Linked DNA regions of Homo sapiens: region 2 is linked to region 1. The links are contacts of gene promoters, found by promoter capture Hi-C in blood cells and fetal thymus (Javierre and others, 2016). All regions are on one chromosome and are shown on one strand. Each heading gives the region's core, a stretch centred on a gene start or on the middle of the fragment in contact. The rest is flanking DNA. Distances are from core to core; before and after follow the strand shown.

What was found. The method cuts DNA at HindIII sites, captures the fragments that hold promoters and counts their contacts. A CHiCAGO score of 5 or more calls a contact.
Region 2: the fragment with the promoter of CYP2F1 here is called in contact with the fragment with the promoter of CYP2B6 in region 1 in 17 of 17 cell types (naive CD8 T cells, total CD4 T cells, naive CD4 T cells and 14 more); the score reaches 32.0 in naive CD8 T cells.

What each region holds. Positions count from the first base shown.
Region 1 is chr19:40,988,837-40,992,795 of GRCh38, reverse strand. It overlaps CYP2B6 (cytochrome P450 family 2 subfamily B member 6), which reads right to left and starts at 1,514. Exons shown (of 9, transcript NM_000767.5): 1 at 1,320-1,514. The coding sequence starts at 1,490. RefSeq lists cis regulatory regions at 1,749-1,772, 3,147-3,159, promoters at 1,509-3,174, 1,475-3,743 and enhancers at 3,201-3,220, 3,203-3,250. The HindIII fragment of the contact is 6,148 bases long and covers 1,261-3,959 here.
Region 2 is chr19:41,112,213-41,116,106 of GRCh38, reverse strand. CYP2F1 (cytochrome P450 family 2 subfamily F member 1) reads right to left here and starts at 1,675. Exons shown (of 10, transcript NM_000774.5): 1 at 1,615-1,675. The HindIII fragment of the contact is 5,953 bases long and covers 1-1,881 here.

The sequences.
Region 1 (3,959 bases), core at 265-2,764:
GTAATCCTAGCACTTTGGGAGGCCGAGGCAGGTGGATTGCTTGAGCCCAGGAGTTTAAGACCAGTCTGGGCAACATGGCAAAACCCTGTCTCTACAAAAAATACAAAAATTAGCTGGGCGTGGTGGCATGCACCTGTAGTTCCAGCTACTTGGGGGGCTGAGGCAGGAGGATCACTTGAGCCTTGGGAGGTCAAGGCTGCAGTGAGACGTGATCATGCCACAGCACTTCAGCCTGGCTGACAGAGTGAGGCCCTGTCTCAGAAAAAAAAAGAGTCTTAAATGCTCATATGCAGCCATTCTTTGTACATCCAGTGGGCTCATTACAGTGGGAACAACAAAAACATGAAGAAAAGGTAAAGAATCACTCAACTACGTTGACATTGTCCATTGTGAATTCCATACTGAGAGCAGACAAGTCCATTATGATGGTGACAGAAGTAATGTTGATGCCCAAGGTTTTGGTCAATCTCAAAATTTTGAGGCTGACCAAAAGGGGAGAATTGTTTAATTAAATTAAATTTGACCTAAAGCTCTCTCTGTAGAGTGAACTGCAACCTAACTTGGGAGTATATTCTTTTTTTTTTTTTTTTTTTTGAGAAGGAGTCTCACTCTGTCACCCAGGATGGAGTGCAGTGGTAAGATTTTGGCTCACTGCAACCTCTGCCTCCTGGATTCAAGTGATTCTCCTTCCTCAGCCTCCTGGGTAGCTGAGATTACAGGCACGCATCACTATGCCCAGCTAATATTTGTATTTTTAGTAGAGACAAGGTTTCACCATGTTGGCCAGGCTGGTCTCGAACTCCTGACCTCAGGTGATCCACCACCTCGGCCTCCAAAAGCACTGGGATTACAGGCATGAGCCACTGCACCTGGCCCAAATGAATATATTCTTGTGACAAGTAGCCAAGTGTTGGCTAATCAGAGCAGCTGGGCTTTCAGTCCACACAGGCTGCAAACTGCTCAGATTGTGACCAAGTAAGGCAAGCTGTGATCTGTGGCCAATCAGGCTGTTTCTGTATGTCACCTCCTTTTTCTGCCTGTAAATACCACTTGACCATACTGCCGTGTGGTGTCTTTCCTGGTTTAGGGAGCTGTCCAACTCATGAGTCACTTCTTTGCTCAAATAAACTCTGCTAAATTTAATTTGATGCTTTTCTCCTAATAATACCACCCATCATGCTTCACCATGCTCCGTACTCACCAACCATGCCCGTGCCACCCCTGACTCTGGAAGTCTGCCTCATTCTGTTTGGTGAAGCTTCCCCAAGTACCAAGGCAAGAAGCAGCTCACCCTCAGACCCCATTCGTCTGTGTCTTACCCTCAGAAAGGATTTGAGTAGGCCTCTTCTATCCATCTGCAGAAGGTTTCCCAAAAGGGGCAGAGGGCGGGGCCCTGGTGGGAGGCGGTCATGGGTGTTAGGGTGGCGCTGAACCAGGAGTAGCAAGAGTCCTGTGAGGAGTGCAAGGAAGAGGAGGACGCTGAGTTCCATGGTCCTGGTCTGACTGCCCTGCACCCTGCTGCAGCCTCCAACTGGGCCTTTTATCCTGACCCTGCCTCTGCACCCTGTTATAAAATTTCATCCATTCCCCACCTCCTTTTTCATCATCATCCAGGAGCATTAGCTTAGAAAAAGTTGTTAGGGAACCCAGACTTCCTGCTTGGGCAACCCAGTGACCTGATGCCTATCCCTTTACCCACTCTGTAGATATTGGCAGGGATACAGTGGTAGAGATATCAAAGTCCAGGTGAGCAAGTGAATGTGTGGGTGTGTGGGTTTGTGGGTATATGTATGTCTATTTTTGTAAGCATAGGTGAGCTTGCACTTTTTTACTTAGCTTTGTCTGTTTGTCTGTGCTTGCATGCATTTGTCCATGCCTGCTTGCATCCCTGTATGTGCTTATATGATTTTTACATGTAAAGGGGTGTTTGAATTTATGCAAATGTACTGGCGTATATTTCTGTGGTTGAATCTGGGGGTGCTTATGTGTGTATCCTTGCATGTGTATGAGCTTCCTTGTATTTATACAGTTTTATATACGAAAGTGCATTTACATTTGTGTGTTGTGGAGGTGGTGGTAGTGCATGTTCAAAACTGAGAGGCTGGCTGGGTGCGGTGGCTCACACCTGTAATCCCAGCACGTTGGGAAGCTGAGGGGGGCAGATCAATTGAGGTCAAGAGTTCGAGACCATCCTGGCCCACATGGCAAAACCCCATCTGTACTAAAAACACAAAAATTAACCGGGCGTGATGGTGGGTACTTTTAATCCCAGCTACTCGGGAGGCTGAGGCAAGAGAATCACTTGAACCTGGGAGGTGGAGGCTGCAGTGAGCCAAGATTACACCACTGCACTCCAGCCTGGGTGACACAGCAATACTCCATCTCAAAAAAAAAAAAAAAAAAAAAAAAAGGAGAAGCTGATGAAAATAAGGAATTATTCAATTCAATCAAATTTGGCCTACTGCCTTTGTAGCATAGCAAACTGTAACCTAGCAATACATGAACCAATTGTGTGTATCTGTGTGTGCTGGTGTATTTGTGCTGGTGTGTTGGTGGATCTCCTAGCCCCTCTCTTTGGAAGCCTGCAGATGCTGAGTCTATCTCCAGTGTCCCCTCCTTCATCCGCCCTTCTGTGACAGCCACAGGTGGAAGTGGTCGGAGAAACAGAAGGAGGAGCAAGAGATGCAGAACTGGTGAGTCTCAGAGGAAGAGGTGGTCAGTTGGAAGGAGACAGAAACTGAGACCTGGCAGGTACAGCGATCAGGTCCTCTTGGTTTCTGATCACTCTAACTAGTGCTAAGGAGTTTCTTCCCTGCCTCTGACTATCTTCACGGTGCAGGAAATTTCTCTGGCTCTCTCTCTGTCTGACTTTGTGTCTCTGTTTTCCCCCTGGAGACTCTTGAGCTCCAGGTGTGTGCAAACTGAGTCCAGTTTGATTGATGTCTACTGGACTCCCATATGTCTCTATCCTCACTGTGCACCTTCACCCACACATCCTCTGACAGGGTCAGTCCATCTTTGCAAAACGTGGGTGTGAATGTGTGCGTGTCTGCCTGTCTCATCCTACGCCTGACTTTTGACCATGAGGCAACATCTTTCTTGCAATGTTAAGCAAACCCTTTGCTGGATCCAGGACCTGAACCCGAAGTTACTTTGACCCAGGAGGAGCAGACAAACAGTCCTATTTGTAAGAGGTGGAAACTGTACTTTCCTGACCCTGAAGAGGTGGCAGCATGGACTTTCCTGAACCAAGGGCCTCGGTCTTGCTGTGCTGTGTCATCTGACACTAAGATTGGGTGCTCATTGCAGCCCCAGGGTGAAGCACCGATGGGGAGGCGTGAAGTGCTTTACACACAGTAACTCAGTCTTTACACTCTTAGTGAGGTATTGTTGCCATCCCCATTTTATAGATGGAGATATTGAAGCAATGACAGTTTGCAAGTCTTACCCAAGGTCATACAGTGGGTTGGGGCTACATTGTCCAATGTGATAGTCACTTGCTGCATGTGGCCACTAATTAAGTACTTGAAATGTGGTCCAAATGCTATTTACAATAGCAAAAATAGGGAATCAACAGATGAATGGTTAAATAAAATGTGGTATATATACACCATTGAATACTATTTAGCCATAAAAAGGAATAAAATAATGTCTTTTATAGCAACATGGATACAACTGGAGGGGATTATCTTAAGTGAAACAAGCCAGGCACAGAAAGTGAATATCACATGTTCTCATTCATAAGTGGGTGCTAAACAATGTGTACACATGGACATAGAGAGTGGCATTATCAGGGGAAATTCAGCCAGATATCGGGCAAAATTCACCCCCAATATTCCACGTAGGTTCTTTTCTGTTCTCCCTAAGTGTCGGCCAGCCTGAGAAATAAAGGGACAGAGCACAAAAGAGAGAAATTTTAAAGCTGGGGGTCCGGGGGAGACATCACATGTCGGCAGGTT
Region 2 (3,894 bases), core at 426-2,925, 120 kb before region 1:
CCTTCCCTAGGCCCTGGAAATGAAGGCAGATGGAGAGAAGGAGACAGGGAGAGGCCAGGGGATGGGGAAGGGAGGGAGAAAGGAGGAAAGAGGCAGAGATAGTCAACATATAGACAGATAAGGAGACAGAAACACAGAGACATAAATGGAGAGAGGCAAGTGATAGAGGAACAGAGACTAAGAGAGGCCAAGAGATATGCATAAAGATAATGAGAGAGACAGAAAAACAGTGAGCGATCTACATATCTACAGATGTCTGTCTACCTATCAGCCATCTATCATCTATCACTCTTTCTTTCCTTCCTTCCTTCCTTTCTTTTTCTTTCTTTCTTTTTTCTTTTTCTTTCTTTCTTTGTTTCTCATCTATTATCTAACATCTATCAACATCTATCTATCATCTATCTATCTATCTATCATCTATCATCTGTCTATCCATCATCTATCTATTCTTCTATCATCTATCATTGATCTGTCTATTATCTATCATCTATTATCTATCTATATCTATCATCTATCTACTATCTTCATAATCTATCATCTGTGTATCATCTGTCTATTATCTATCTATCATCACCTGTCTGTCAAGAGACTGTCATACAGAGACAGTGATAAAGAGAGATCAAGACACACAGGGACAGAGACAGACAAACACAGAGATAGGGAGAGCCAGAGAGCACATCACAGAAAGAGAGAGGCTGACATAGACTAGAGAAAGAAAGAGACAGAACTAGACAGACACAGAGCTAGAGAAAGACAAGGGAGATTGAGTGGAGAGACAGTGAGATGGACACTGACTGAGAGACAGAGAGGGACATGGAAGGATGGAGAGAAAAAGGGTAAGAGGGACAGAGAGAGGGAGAGACAGAGCTAGACACAGAGACTGAGGGAGACGAGAATGACAGACAGAAACAGATACACAAAGACAGAGTCACATAGACAGAGATGGAGAGAGAGAGAGAGAGAATAAGAGAGGCAGGGAATATTAGAGCCACACAAAGAGACGGGTAGGCTGCAAAGGGCAGACCAAGAGAGACTGAGGCCGGGCACGGTGGCTCACGCCTGTAATCCCAGCACTCTGGGAGGCCGAGGCAGGCGGATCACTTGAGGTCAGGAGTTTGAGACCAGCCTGGCCAACATGGTGAAACCCTGTCTCTACTAAAAACACAAAAATTAGTCAGGCGTGGTGTTAGGCACCTGTAATCCCAGCTACTCAGGAGGCTGAGGCAGGAGAATCGCTTGAACCCAGGAGGTGGAGGTTGCAGTGAGCTGAGATTGAACCACTGCACTCCAGCCTCAAAAAAAAAAAAAAAAAAAAAAAGAGAGAGAGAGAGAGAGAAAGAGACGGAGACAGAGAGGAAGGGCACAGGCAGAAACAGTGACAGGAAAAAATCAAGTGTTGCCAACCATGGGGTTGCATTGCAGAGAGAGAAGCCACCTACTTGGTGAAGCACCAGTAAAGAAATCCCAGTGCTCAGAACAGGGACATGAGAGCTCTCAGAGGAAACAGCAAAAAAGATTCCTAGCCAGTCTCAGAGACAGAGATTGGAGCTGGCGACCCACCCTCTCTTGGGAGACACCCCCTCCTTCTCTGCCTCCCTCACCGGGGCCCTTTACCTGCTGAGCTGCAGGAGACACTGGCTGGGATGCGCTAGAGCCTGCAGCTCTGGGTGTGCTTGGGGGGTGGTGGGGCAGAGGTTGTTCTTAAGTTGTTTCTGCCCACACCCTCCTCCTTAACCCCACTTTTCTTGTTCTCGCTGTGAACTTTAAATCCCTCCCATCATCTTGCCATACCTTTCCTGCGGCCCTAGGGCTCACAGCCAGCTGGAAAGGTGCCGTGGGAGGGGGCTGCGCCTGGGGGCCCTCCTGGGATGGGGCAAAGCTTTCTTTCTTTCTTTGTTTTTTTTTTTTGCTTTGCCAGTTGGAGCCTGGGCCTGGTTTTGGGGTAGTCATGGGGCTGTCGCAAAATGATGGGCCAGGGATGGGGGCTGGGTTCCTTTGGTATTTGGGGCACTTGTTTCTTTTTCTCTGGGTTCAAGTCCATTTCTGCCACTGATGGGCCGAGTGGCCCTGGCTAAGTCCCTTTCCCTCCAGAGCTGGAGTTTTCTCTTTCTCTGGAAGCCTATTTTTTCATAGTTCTCCATGCTGTTCCCTGTCTCTTGCCGTGGGTCTCTGAAATGCTCTGTGTCTTGCTTTGCTTCTGCCTCTACAGTCTCTGCCTCTGAATCTTTTTGTCTCTCTGTGTCTCTGTCTCTCCCTCCTTTGGTGTCTCTGGGTCTTCATTTCTTATGCTCTCTGGGCTTTCTCCTTCTCTCTGCTTCTCTCCCTGATCTCCCTGTAAGTCCCTCTCAGTCACTGTCTCCTGATCTCTCTGGTCTCTCACTCTCTCTATCTCTCATGTCTCCACGAGTCAGACTGCACTTGGTGGGACTGAAGCCAAGCTGAGGCTGAAGGAGTGTTTAAGAAAAGGGCAGAGCTGGAAGCCACAGGGAAAAAGCCTCTCAGACTAGAATGACACTCTCTCCCACCACTGGCTCATAAACAGCCCTCCTCCTGCCCTCCTGAGCACCCTACTAGCCATGTCTACTCTCAGCTCCTGCCTTAGAAACTCACCCTAGTAGGCCAGGCGCAGTGGCTCACGCCTGTAATCCCAGCACTTTGGGAGGCCGAGGTGGGTGGATCACCTGAGGTCAGGAGTTCAAGACCAGCCTGGCCAACATGGTGAAACCCTGTCTCTACTAATAATACAAAAATTAGCCAGGCATGGTGGCTCACGCCTGTAGTCTGAGCTACTTGGGAGGCTGGGGCAGGAGAATCGCTTGAACCCGGGAGGTGGAGGTTGCAGTGAGCTAAGAACATGCCACTGCACTCCAGCCTGGGCAACAGGGTGAGACTCGGTCTCAAAAAAAAAAAAAAAAAAAAAAGAAGAAGAAACTGGCCCTAGTTACCCACCTCCTGGCCAGGTCACAAGGGCAGAATGCAAAACCTGGAGCTGGGCCAGGGCTCTGGTGCCAGGGGCTAGGCTGGGTGGAGAGCCCCTGCGGTCAAGGGTCTGGGAGGCCAGGTGGAGGTGTGGGTACCCCCACAGGTTCGTGGGTGTGCACCAGGATTGCTGTTCTCAGAGGGGCAGAGGAGGAAGTGTTTGGAGGTCCTGGGGAATTTGACACCCTAGGTCCCAGGCATATGGTGGGGTGGAGGTGGGGCCCATGCTGTTGTTTCAGTCCTGGATAGGCCGGTTGGGGCAGGTCCTGGAAGAGGGCTGAAGGCTTGATGATGGGATTATATAGCTCTAGTTTCCCTTGGCGTCTACTCCCTACTTTTAAGGGGAGGGTGTAGTGCTGTATCCACGCCAACCCTGTAAGCAACTTATCCCTCACCCTAGAACTTGGTTAAGAGGGGCCTAATGAGGCTGGGCGTGGTGGCTCATGCCTGTAATCCCAGCACTTTGGGAGGCCGAGGTGGGTGGATCACCTGAGGTCAGGAGTTTGAGACAGCCTGACCAACATGGCAAAACCCTGTCTCTACTAAAAATACAAAAAAAATTAGCCAGGCGTGGTGGTGCTTGCCTATAATCCCAGCTACTCAGGAGGCTGAGGCAGGAGAATCACTTGAACCCGGGAGGTGGAGGTTGCAGTGAGCTGAGATTGTACCATTGCACTCCAGCCTGGGCAACAAGAGTGAAACTTTGACTCAAAAAAAAGAAAAAAAAAGAAAAAAAAGATGGGCCTAATGGGACCACCTGATTGGGGAAACTGGGATTTATGGGAAGGGCAGTTAGTTAGTTTGTTTTGACACAGGGTCTCACTCTGTCACCCAGACTGGAGTTTAGTGGTGTGATCATAGCTCATTGCAGCCTCGATCTCCTGGGCTTAAGGGATTCTCCTGCCTCAGCTTCCC